Regions from separate parts of the Homo sapiens genome. Here region 1 is linked to region 2. Evidence: promoter capture Hi-C in 16 types of primary human blood cells and fetal thymus (Javierre and others, 2016). All regions are on one chromosome and are shown on one strand. Each heading gives the region's core, a stretch centred on a gene start or on the middle of the fragment in contact. The rest is flanking DNA. Distances are from core to core; before and after follow the strand shown. Region 1 has its middle 3.2 kb from the start of HBEGF. Region 2 holds the start of PFDN1 (prefoldin subunit 1).

Region 1 (6,281 bases), core at 2,578-5,077, 46 kb before region 2:
CCACCATGCCCAGCTAATTTTTGTCTTTTTTGTAGAGGGAGGGTCCCACTATGTTGCCTAGGCTGGTCTTGAACTCCTGAGTTCAAGTGATCCTCCCACCTCGGCCTCCCAAAGTATTGAGATTATAGACATGAGCCACCACACCCAGCCATAGAAAGGCTTTTCATGTGAGTATCTCTTGTGTCCGTGGTTCTCAATCCTTTCAGAATCAATATTTCATTTTTTTATGACAAATAATGTTAACACCCCTTTACTATCCTGAAATGAAGTTTAAAGATAATATCCTATCTGTACATTTACTCTAAAGAAATTAATACTGGCTGGGTGTGGTGGCTCACACCTTTAATCCCAACAATTTGGGAGGCCAAGGCAGAAGGATTGCTTGAGCCCAGGAGTTTCAGACCAGCCTAGGCAAAATAGTGAGACCCTATCTCTACAAAAAATTAAAAATTAGCTGAGTGTGGTGGTGCATGCCTATAGTCCTAGCTACTTAGGAGGCTGGGGCAGGAGGATCGCTTGAACCCAGGAGATTGAGGCTGCAGTGAGCCATGATGGTGCTACTGCATCCCAGCCTGGGCAACAGAGCAAGACCCTCTCTCTACAAAATAATTTAAAAAACCGTAATTAATATAAAAGATAAAATGATTTTTAAAATAACATTATTTCAATTGGCAAATGCCTGCTAACAACTACTCAGAAATCTCAATGAAGTAGCCCATTGATTACAATCACACAGATTTACCTTGAATGTCACAGCTATAAATACTGCCTGATAACAGGTGCATTGTATTGGTAGCTCAGATATCACCAAAATGAACAACTCACACTAATTTCATTCCTGGAAGTCATTGCAAAAACTCTTGTTATATTTTTGTGTAAATTAGAGATGATTCTAGGCTCAAGTTATTACAACCAAGCTTTTTACCGATATGTGTTTGGTAGGACACTCAAAAGCAGTCAGGTAATTTCCTGACCCCTTTTTCTCCCAAATGCCTGAGGACTCCCCAGTCAGTGACAACTAAATTCCTGAAATGTCCCCTAGGGGGCAGTATCTCTTTCTTTGCGAACCATTGTCTTAGACCAACCCTTAGTTAAAAAAACGAGCAAATGGATAATGTGAAATTGTTAAATTGCAGACCTGCAACTGCATTTCTAAGAGTAACCGAACTTGTACATTCCTGGTACAGAATGTGATGTGACCACATTCCAAGGTTAAGCACCAGAAAAGTTAACAGGAGCTCTGACGTATTTATATAGGGCTTTTCATTTTGCCAAGCACTTCAGAGATGCTATCTCCTTCAGTTGTCACAAGAACCTCCTAAGTAGATTGTTATTCTCCCCACTTATAGACGAAGAAGCTGAGACACAGAGAGAAAGGTTATCACATCCTGTAAATCAGGCACTGTCAATTGTTATAGAATTGTCTCCCCAAGTCTTTTTTTTTTTTTTTTTTTTGAGACGGAGTCTTGCTTTGTCGCCCAGTCTAGAGTGCAGTGGTGCCATCACAGCTCACCGCAACCTGCACCTCCCAGGCTCAAGTGATTCTCCTGCCTCAGCCTCCTGAGTAGCTGGGATAACAGGTGCCTGCCACAACGCTCGGCTAATTTTTGTACTAATAAATAGAGACAGGGTTTTGCCATGTTGGCCAGGCTGGTCTCGAACTCCTGACCTCAGGTGATTTGCCCACCTCAGCCTCCCAAAGGGCTGGGATTACAGGCATGAGCCACCGCGCCCAGCCTCCTCAAGTCTTTTGACAGCAACATGACAGCAAATAATTCATGATGGACATACTGGCCGGTGCCTGAATGCAGGGTAATTGTTTCAAGTTCTCATTTTTCACTTGAGGAATCTGAGGCTTGAAGAGAGAGATGGGTGTGTAATGAGGGAGGAATCACTTTCTCTCTGTGCTGGCCAACACAGAGGGGATGGCTGTAGGGGCAAAGTCCTTGGTCTGGAGATGTTAATCATTCAAAGTCACAAAAATGGGACCAGAAATAGAGAAGGATGGTTTGGGATCCAGCACATTATAAATATTCCTTCCTCAACATCTTCTGGAGATGACAGGGATTCCTGAAACCCCCTCACCTCCAAAAGCCTCCCCCTATCTCATCCATTCCTATCCTTCATCCTATTCAAATAGATCCTAGCCCCAAACAATCAGACAGCAGAGCCTGTTCATCCCTGAATATGCATGAAGCACGCTACTTCCAGGTGCCCAGCCAGCATAAGAAGGTACACGGGGGCTCCAAAGGGCAGGCCTGAATTCTAATCTAATCCAGCTGTATGCCCAAACTGTTTGATTAACTGTCTCAGATGGGGTGAGAGAAGCCAGCCTGGGCCAAGAAGCAATGACCCCTCATCCTGACATTCCAAGTTTGGGTAACTCTGGGCTCATGGTCAGACCTACCCTTAATGGAGGTGCCCTTCTTTACCCCTCTCCCCAACGCAGCAGAGTTCAAGGGCTGTGCAGGATTCACTTCTGGTCAGAGGGGAATGAGAAGGCAGCTGAATCCTCTCCCCCAGGGGGCACAGCTTCCCTCTGACCTCTGAGCCTGAGTTGCTTTTTTGGGTTGAGGTTTCCAAAACTCTGGGTGGCCTTGCAGATCTAGCATCTCTTTGATAAGCATGGCCATCTCCCAGAAAGGAACACTTCATCTCTGAGGATGGCTAGCTCATGATAAACCAACATTTTATTCAAGTTCCCACTTAAAAAGAAAAAGGAAAGAAAGCAAGAAAAAAATTTGGTCATAATAACCGCTGTCATTGAGTAAGTACCTACTATGTGCCAGGCATCATATTCCGCTTTATACACATGATCTGACTGAATCATCACAAAAGCCCTATAATAATAACTACTATTATTGTCCCCACTTTTCAGGTGAGCAAACTGTAGGTAAGAGAAATTGAATAACATGTTCAAAGTTAGAAAGAAAAAAAAACCAACAAAATTTGAACCCCCAAGTATCTGACTCCCAAGACTGTATCCATTTCATTAGCTGCCCTGCTGTGCTTACCTAAGCATCCTTCCAGTCTAGTGAGCCAGAGTTTCTTATTATCCCTCAGAACAGATGAAGGACTGAAACTCAGTAAAACTGATAATGTTACCCTCCACAGAAGCATAGAGATGGCGGCTGTCGTCTCATCCATTTGAGTGTTGAGCTTAGGAGAGCACAAGCCCAAGTGAACGAGGGGGTTTCAAATTGAGGCTGAGACACTCACTAGCTGGGTGACCTTGGGATGTTACCTTTTAAAGCTTCAATCCTTTAAAATGCAGATGATGATAACAGTGTCTAGTTTGGGGGATGTTGTGAGGATCAAGCAAGATAATGCATGTGCAGTGTTGATTACAGGGGAATTGTCACCACTAGCACCGCTTTCTTCCAGGTCCTCCCCACTGGGGAGCAAGTGCTCTCTCCAAATCAAGAACTCTGGCCTAGCAGTGAGTCAGCAGCACTCAGAGTCCCATGGAGCCTGCCTTTCCAGAGGCCCAGGAAACTCGCATGGGCTGGGAAGCAGGATGCCAGGGTTTCTGCTCTGCACTTGCCCCCTTCTGACTCACTGGTGGCCCAGGGCTAATCAGTCTCCAAGCCTCAGTTTGCTCATGGTCAATAGACAGTCAATAAAAGCAGGCTTGTCTGTCTGAACTCTACTTCCTTAGGACTATGTTCCTGGCATTTGACAACCTGACATCCAGAGAGCAGGTGGGGGAGACCTGAGCAGGAGGAGGGGACAATATGGAGGAATCCTGCATGACAGTGCTGTCTCATTGACATCTCATATGATTCTGACAATAATGGGGCATAAAATCCAGTGTCTACCTTGGCTTATAACGTCCTCTTTTATCTGTTGCTAGCCTTTGTTCCAATATCATCCCATATCTCTCCTTTTTTGGCCCTCTTGCTTTTCCTTGAATGCTCCCAACTTTTTTCCATTTCAGAGTCTTTGCACTATTTGCACATCTTGGAATGCTTTTGTCATAGATGATCCCAAATCTGATTTCTTCTTCTCATTCAGGCCTCAGCTTACATGTCACCTGCTCAGAGAAGGCTTTGCTAATCAGTTTAAAGTGTCATCCTGGGCACTGGAACATATTATCCTACAGCACATCATTGTATTTTAACTTTCATCTTAGCAGTTATCACTATAGGATATGTTTTTCCTTGTTTATTTCCTTAATGTGCTGCCTGTCTACTATAGAATATAAGCTCTGTGAAAGCAGGTCCTGGGCTGTCTTATTTATTTCTATGTCCCCAGTGCCCCCCAAAAATGTTCAGTTAATGTTTATGATATAATTGAGTTAATGAGATTGCCTCAGCATGAATTGTGATTCCTTTTCTTTGCTCAGAGACATCCAAGATTCTGAGAGGGGAAGTGACTGTCCCAAATCCAATTCAAGCTTTTTATCTTCTTTTTTCAGGCCCTTCCTGTAAAACCTGGCTGACACACAAACCTAGCTGGGGTGAGGCTCCAGGTGTGATGAAAGTTTGGAGTTGCCCCATGAATGGGACTGAGGCTGATGTGGGGGTGAGAAGGCGGAAGGACAGAGCATGTGAAGGGAGAAAGGCAGGCTGGGGCAAGAGAGCAGGGTGTGACTCTGGCGAGGGTGGGGGAAAGGGGGTGATTTGACCATGTGTCAGGAAGTGTTTCTCTCCACCCTCCCCTGGGGAGAGCCTTGACCCCAAGGTGGCTTTGTTTTGGGGAAGCAGGTGGCCAGGCAGCTGCTGAGGGAGGGCAAAGTCATGGCTTGGGCGGTGACCATGCACTGAGGTCCTAGGCCCGATACTCATCACCCAAAAGGATAATCTAACAGTGGCTCTTAGCCAAATAGGTGACAGGTGAGCTTCTGTCTGAAACCAGCCCAACTATATCATAAAGCCTCAGATATGGCCTAGGGGAAGGCAAGCGATCTAGAGAAGTGAGAGAAAAGAGGCCTCTAAGGAAATAGAGTGGTCAAGTGCTTAGTGATTATTATTAACAGCAACAATAATAATGGGTCACATTTATTGAGAGCTTATAGTGTGCCTGGCACTATACTAACTACTTTTATGTGTTCCCGCATTCATTTCTCAAAAAGCTCCCTACAAAGTAGTCATTATTATTATTGTTATTATTTTTTCCATTTGAGAGACGTCAAAACTGAGGCTCAGTGAAATTAAGTTTCTTGTCCAAGGTCACACAGTAAGTAGCAAAGGCAGGATTCAAACTCAGGTCTGTAGTGATTCCAGTGCACTATGGAAACCTAGGCCTAGGTTACTGGAGCAAGTTAAGAGGGCAGGGCCAGACTGACCCCTGCAAAGGTGGGGATAGGGAGGGACAGTGGGATAGACTGTGTATAAATAGCAGGCCTGTTTTTATCCCTACACACAGGCAGAATCCGGCAAGTGCTCTATCTGGCACAATTTCAGGGCTCTGAAAGCCAACCCAGCCCTGTGTCAAACAACTCTCTCCCCAGCACGTCCCTGGAAACTGAAATACCTACTGAGACACTCATTTCTTTGGGTCAGGACAGTGACTCCAGAAGACCCCTGCAAAAGCACATGGGTTGGAAGAGAAACACCTAGTGTCTGTGAAACAGCAATCTAGGTTAGCCAGCTGGGTCCTATGGGAGGGTGGCTCATTTTTTATGTTGAGGAAAAAGGTGGCAGTCAAAGGCAAGGAAAAGAATAAGGCTTGTTTCACAACCTGTGTCTCTCCAATCTCAGAAGCCTGGGAATTACAACCCATAGTTCAAAAATCCTAATGTCCCCTGAGGGAAGATGGGAGGAAGCCACTCCAGAGACTAAGAGAGTACTAACTTCCTTTGCTTTTGCTGGATTGATACTAAGTGCCTGCAACTTCAACTCTGGTTATCTCGGGTTTATGAGAACGGCTGGCATTCACGTGTCTAATTTTTAAATGATAGATGAATTAATTATTATTTGATACTTGCCGTGTTGGTAGGCCAAAAGGTGGGCTTCTGAAACTTAGAGGGTGACAGGGATGGAGACCCCTGGTATGGGGCTTAGATGAAGCAAGAGGCCAGGCCCGGAACAGAACTCAGCTCAGCAGTCAGTCACAAGGCTGCAGAGTGACAGGCGTTTGGGGAAAGGTAGGAACCGCTCTCCGCCACCTGCCGGTCAGTAGCCCTACCCACAATCAGGCCGCGGCTGCCTCGGCCTGGTCCCAAAAATTGTGAACGCCGCCCTCTCCTCCCGCCCAGTCCTCCGCCGCGCCCGCGGGGTCGGGGGCTGCGCTGCCGGCGCCGCGAGCCGGGCGAGCTTCCCAGCACGGGAGGAGGGAGG
Region 2 (6,004 bases), core at 1,048-3,547:
CTCTGTCTTTCAGGCTGGAGTGCAATGACACAATTGATCCCCACTCACTGCAGCCTTGGCCTCCAGGCCTCACACAATTCTCCTGCCTCAGCCTCCTGAGTAGCTGGGACTACAGGGGCATGCCACCATGCCTGGCTAATCAGTCAGTATTTATTGATCATCTGTAATGAGAATCTAAGAAGGTCCCAGAGAATCAAAATATCAGATCCTTTTTACTCTTTCTCAAATTGGGGAGGAATGAGTCTTCTTTTTTTTTTCCAGAATAATTTATTCACATCCAGTATCCATTTTGTATTTTTTTCCCGTGATGCACTGTGACAGGTGTTCTAGGTACAAGAGGTGGAAGAACCATTATTCCATAGTTCTTGATTTCAAGGAGCTTACAGTCTAAGAAAAATGTTTTCTAAAAAAAGGTAGACAGTGTTATATGCCTTGAGAGAGAAATAGATGTTGTGAGGGGAGTTCAGAGGAGAGATTATCTTTGCTCTGTGTGATGGGGGATGTAGTGCCCATTTGCTGGACTTTGAAAGACAAACAGGACGGCGATTAACACCAGTGATTTATTGAGTATCTACTTGTGTGCATGGAGCTATGTTTGGAGCTTTTTATCCTGATCTCATTTATTTCTCACAATAACCCTGTTAGGTCAATATGGTCACTCTCAAACATGAGAAGACTGAAGCTCATTAAAAATAGGTGGCAGATGCTGGACGTGGTGGCTTGCCTGTAATCCCAGCCCTTTGGGAGGCCGAGGCAGGCGGATCACTTGAGGCTGGGAGTTGGAGACCAGCCTGGGCAACACGGTGAAACCCGTCTCTACCAAAACTACAAAAATTAGCCGGGCGTGGTGGCAGGCGCCTGTAATCCCAGCTACTCGGGAGGCTGAGGCAGGAGAATCACTTGATCCTGGGAGGCAGAGGTTGCAGTGAGCCGAGATCGTGCCACTGCATTCCAGCCTGGGTGACAGAGCGAGACCCTGGCTCAAAAAAAAAAAAAAAAAAAAAATGTGGCCGGGTGCGGTGGCTCAAGCCTTTAATATCAAAGCACTACAGCACTTTGGGCGACCAAGGCGAGCGGATTGTTTGAGCTCAGGAGTTTGAGACCAGCTTGGGCAACAAGGTGAAAACCCGTCTGTACAAAAATATAAAAATTAGCTGAGTGTGGGTGGCGCGCGCCTGTAGTCCCAGCGCTACTCACGAGGCTGAGGTGGGAGGATCGCTTGAGCGCGGGAGGTAGAGGCTGGAGTGAGTCGTGATTGCACCATTGCACTCGAGCCTGGGTGACAGAGCAAGATCCTGTCTCAAGAAACAAACAAACGTACAAAAAAAAAAAAAAACCCCACAAAATATCCAAGTGACTTGCTTAAAGTCACACAATTAGTAAATGGAACCAGACATAGGCTAAAGGCAGACCAAGCCTTGAATCTAGATTAGGCTGGTTCCAAATTCCCTGCCCTTTCATCTCCCTAACAGTTTGTTTTCTTTCTCTCTTTCTTTCTTTTTTTAAAAAATAAAATAAATTTCCTAATTATTTATGTAGCACTTTCTCTTAGCATAACAGTTTTTAGAGTAGGTTAACTTTTTTTTCCATTTCCAAAAGTCAATTATTATCTATTCTGGTTCAAATGCCAGGTCCTTTTATGGCAGAGATTCTCAAAAAAGTGATCCGCGGAGGAGTTGCACCATTAGGTCACTGGGGTAGTCTGCAAAAGTGCAAATTTCCAGACCCCATTCTCAAAGATTCTGAGTACGTTTGAGATGAGACCCAGAGAACCTGCATTTTTTTGTTTTTAAACAAACGTATTCAGCCTCTCTTGAGAACCACTGTGCCTAGAATGTCTTTGGGAAGCTTTTGGAAGTAATAAGTTCGTTTTGGAAAGAACACTCCAGACAAGCTTTCCAATAGTCTTTCCCAAACTGTCATGCCTGAGGTTCTGGACTTACTCTTACTCATTCCTGAGAGCACAGCGACTAGCTGAAGGACTGATCGACTGATGAGGGTTTGACCTCATCTACATACATCTCAATTTAGCAGCACATATTAAGCTAGCTGGCAAACTGCTTAAAGCCACATGGGAAATCTGCGCGTTGGGCTATGTCTGGAAGATACGGAGGAGCAAGCCAGACCTGACCGGTCAGGTAGTGAAGACACGGAATCCGAAACCCAAATATTTCAGGAGTCAATTCTCAGAGAAAGATAAGAAGCCCGGTTAGTCCAACTCATGCGCAGGCGCAGAAGAAAGACCGGCGCACAAAGTAAGACGCGCCCTTCCCCACCCTATTTCAGTCCAACTCCCACTGCGCAGGCGCTTACAGTGCACCAAGATGGCCGCCCCCGTGGATCTAGAGCTGAAGAAGGTAAAAGAGGGTCTTTGGCAGGCGGAGGTCTTCTTTTTGGAGGCTGAGGGGACTATAGACAAGAATATCAAGTGAGGCACGAGCCTTGCAGAAGGAAGGAGGGTCCAGTGGACTAGGGAATGGTTTCCCAGAGTCCTAAGGCCTCACTGGGTCTCCATAAACGGGGTGGGGGGCGAGCGGCTCTTGCTGGGTAGGAGCCGGTTGGTCTGGGTCGGGTAAGTCTGCGGGCCTGTCTCGGGCTTGTCCAGTCTTTCTGAGCTCCAGAGACATTTCGTTGCGTTTGGAGGCTTCAGGGACTCACTTTCATAGTAAGAACTAAAGAGAGCATTTCAAATGGGGGTCCCTTCGGACCCCTTGCCTGAGCTGTGGCATCCGTAATTCTGCCTCATTTGCTTTGAAAAACTCCAAGTCCAACCTTTGTTTTTAGGCCATTTATTCGGTTCTGTACCTTGAAAGTTGCAATATCTACAGTTCGGAAAACCAAGCATTGTAGCAGCAATGTTCATTTCAGGATTTTGCCCCCCCTCCACTTCTTTTGAAGGACTCGTCAAACAAAACAAAACAAAACCTCCTTCTTTTGAAGGAATTGTCAAAAACAAAACAAAACCAGTAAAGTTTTCCAAATAAAACCGGTATCGGAAGGAATTGGGTTTCCTGTTTTCCTCAGTTGCTTATAAATGTGTTGTTATTCAGATTTTTGCTATCTAAGAATGATCAGCATTCTAACACCACTAATGACCCCAAACCAGTATGCTTTGTGCGGTGGGGTGGATTGGAAAGGACCCTAGAATTTATCTATTTTAAATCTACTTTTCTGGAAAAGGAACCAGTGCCAGAAAAGTCTGTCAGAAGTTGGGACTAGAATCCAGTATTCTCTGCCTTATCTCACACTTTTTTGACCACTATTTTGAGTTCTTCAGATGAGCAACATCTTAGTTAAGACTGCCTGTGGTCAACTTGTGTAAAAGAAATAGGACAGCCGAAATAGCTGTTGCTTCTAACAAATGAAGCTTTTGTTAGTGTTGTGAGGATATTATGTGTTTGTGTCTTGCTTTTGTTCTTCTTGTCTTGAATCTTGTAAATTTAGCTCTTAGGTGGAGTCTCTAATCTTTAACAGTATACTAGCTCATCTTTAATGGTATACTAGCTTCCTTAGCAAGCTGTATAGAGCAGTCAGATGATACCTGGAATTTTACATTTCAAAACAAAATTGTGCATTCTAAAAATTTACCTTTTCTTCTGTTAAAAGTACCGATTTAAATCAGGGTTTAGTGAATGGATTTGCCTCCCGGTACTTTTGAATTTATTGCTACATTTGAAACTTGCGGGCGGTGAATGCAAACTAAGAAAATGATTACAAACTTAAAATGAATAATTTTGATAACCAATTAATTAAAAAACTTGTTTAAAGGTTTTATCTTCTAATGTTTTTACAGGGTCCTTTTTTTGGGTGGAGACAAATAGGAAATTTCAGGCCCCTCCCCTTCCCCAAAGTAAATCTTTCAAAACCTTACTAGTAGGTGAAAACAAGGTCACAATAAAAATTATGTAGTAGCCTTTGCTGTGCATTGCAGTCACAGATGTTATTAAGGCACAAATTTAACAGCATGTGAAAGTCATTCCAGGCACTTCAACAAAAGTATCCAAGAACTGTTTATCTTCCAGTTAAGTAAGTGTACGCAAGGGTCAAATTTGGCCTGGTATCTGTGGATGAAGATCATGATGCAATTCTTTTGCCAGTGCTTTGCATTTTTTCTCACTCTCTTTCTTGGTCTTCCTCTTAAAAATGTTCATATTATGAATATTACTATAGACAGTGGAATGGAAAGATTGCTGAACTAAGGGGTTAGAAGAAATGGATTTAAATAACACCTGCCTTCCCCCCAGTAGTTGTTCAACCTTGTGCAAGCCACTTTTATCTCTTAACTCATTTGGTTACTTAATTTGTAAATTGTGGATGATGAGACTGCCAATGCTAACTCATGGAATTACTGAGAGGCATAAATGAGATATTTATTATATTTCCTCATTAATATTCTTATATTAATATTCCCATGTTAATATTTCAAACTAATGTGAGAAAGTGCTTTGAAACCTAATTGTGCAATACAAATGTAGTGAGTTATTACTTTTATGGTTCTTGTTTTGAATCTCTGGATTTCATCCTTGACTATTGCATTTATTTCTTTTACTACTCCTTGAGTACTTGCTACTTAATATGGTTATTACTTAATATGCATTTGATTTGCTTCACACTGATTGTATCTTCTGATGATTGTAAATTCAGTATTTAGTATGGTGACTTGATTGTTTACAGTTATGTTGACTTTTATTGATGTTTGGTAAATTTCACAGCTTTGTCTCTGGCTAGCATATTTTGTTTTAATATATTTGGATTTGAGGTAAATGTTTCCTGTAAAATGTTTTACCTACTAAATCATGGACTTGTTTTTATTAGGCCTTCACAGAGCTTCAAGCCAAAGTTATTGACACTCAACAGAAGGTGAAGCTCGCAGACATACAGATTGAACAGCTAAACAGAACGAAAAAGCATGCACATCTTACAGATACAGAGATCATGACTTTGGTAGATGAGACTAACATGTATGAAGGTGTAGGAAGAATGTAAGTAAAATGTGTCCTTAATGGAGTTATTTTGGGAGTGCTTTTGTCCGAGTTAAATAGAATTTGTTCATCTTAAAACTTGGGTTAGGCCAGGAGTGGTGGCTCATGCCTGTAATCCTGGCACTTTGGGAGGTCGAGGCGAGTGGATCACTTGAGGGCAGCCTGTTGGCCAGTATGGTGGAACCCTGTATCTACCACAAATACAAAGATTAGCTGAGCATGGTGGCACTTGCCTGTAGTCTTGGCTACTTGGGAGGCTGAGGCAGGAGAGTCGCTTGAACCCCGGAGGTGGAGGTTGCAGTGAGCCGAAATCATGCCACTGCACTCCAGCCTGGGCAGCAGAGCTAGACTCTGTCTCAAAACAAAAGAAACTTTGGTTTAAAGTAAGTATCTTTTTCTTTTTGAGACGGAGTTTTCGCTATATCGCCCAGGCTGGAGTGCAATGGCCCGATCTTGGCTCACTGCAATCTCCGTCTCCTGGGTTCAAGCGATTCCCCTGCTTCAGCCTCCTGAGTGACTGGGATTACGGGCGCTTGCCACCACGCCCTGCTAATTTTTGTGTTTTTAGTAGAGACGGGGTTTTACCATATTTGCCAGGATGGTCTGGAACTCCTGACCTCCTGATCCGCCCACCTCAGCCTCCCAAAGTGCTGGATTACAGATATGAGTCACCACACCCGGCAGGTTAAAGTATCTTAGAAATAACTTTAAAGATTATCTAATTAAATGCTTTCTTTTTTTAAAATGAGGAGCTGAACTTCAGGTAGATTAATTAAAGTGTTTAAGTTTAGACTTTAAAGTACATTTTTTTTTTTTTTTTGAGACAGAGTCTCGCTCTGTTGCCAGGCTAGAGTGCAGTGGTGTGATTCTGGCTCACTGCAACCTCCGCCTCTTGGGTTCAAACAATTCTGCCTCAGCCTCCTGAGTAGCTGGGACTACAGGCGCATGCTACCATGCCCGGCTAATTTTTGTATTTTTAGTAGAAATGGGGTTTTACCGTGTTGGCCAGGATGGTCTCAATC

The links. The method cuts DNA at HindIII sites, captures the fragments that hold promoters and counts their contacts. A CHiCAGO score of 5 or more calls a contact.
Region 1: a fragment that was not itself captured here is called in contact with the fragment with the promoter of PFDN1 in region 2 in 11 of 17 cell types (monocytes, megakaryocytes, M2 macrophages and 8 more); the score reaches 14.8 in monocytes.

What each region holds. Positions count from the first base shown.
Region 1 is chr5:140,346,677-140,352,957 of GRCh38, reverse strand. No RefSeq gene overlaps it. Among named protein-coding and RNA genes, the nearest start is that of HBEGF, 3.2 kb to the right of the region's middle. RefSeq lists silencers at 6,071-6,120, 6,161-6,281. The HindIII fragment of the contact is 1,143 bases long and covers 3,256-4,398 here.
Region 2 is chr5:140,299,394-140,305,397 of GRCh38, reverse strand. PFDN1 (prefoldin subunit 1) reads left to right here and starts at 2,297. Exons shown (of 4, transcript NM_002622.5): 1 at 2,297-2,357; 2 at 4,816-4,982. The coding sequence starts at 2,325. RefSeq lists a silencer at 2,188-2,392 and enhancers at 2,281-2,560, 5,952-6,004. The HindIII fragment of the contact is 1,473 bases long and covers 1,897-3,369 here.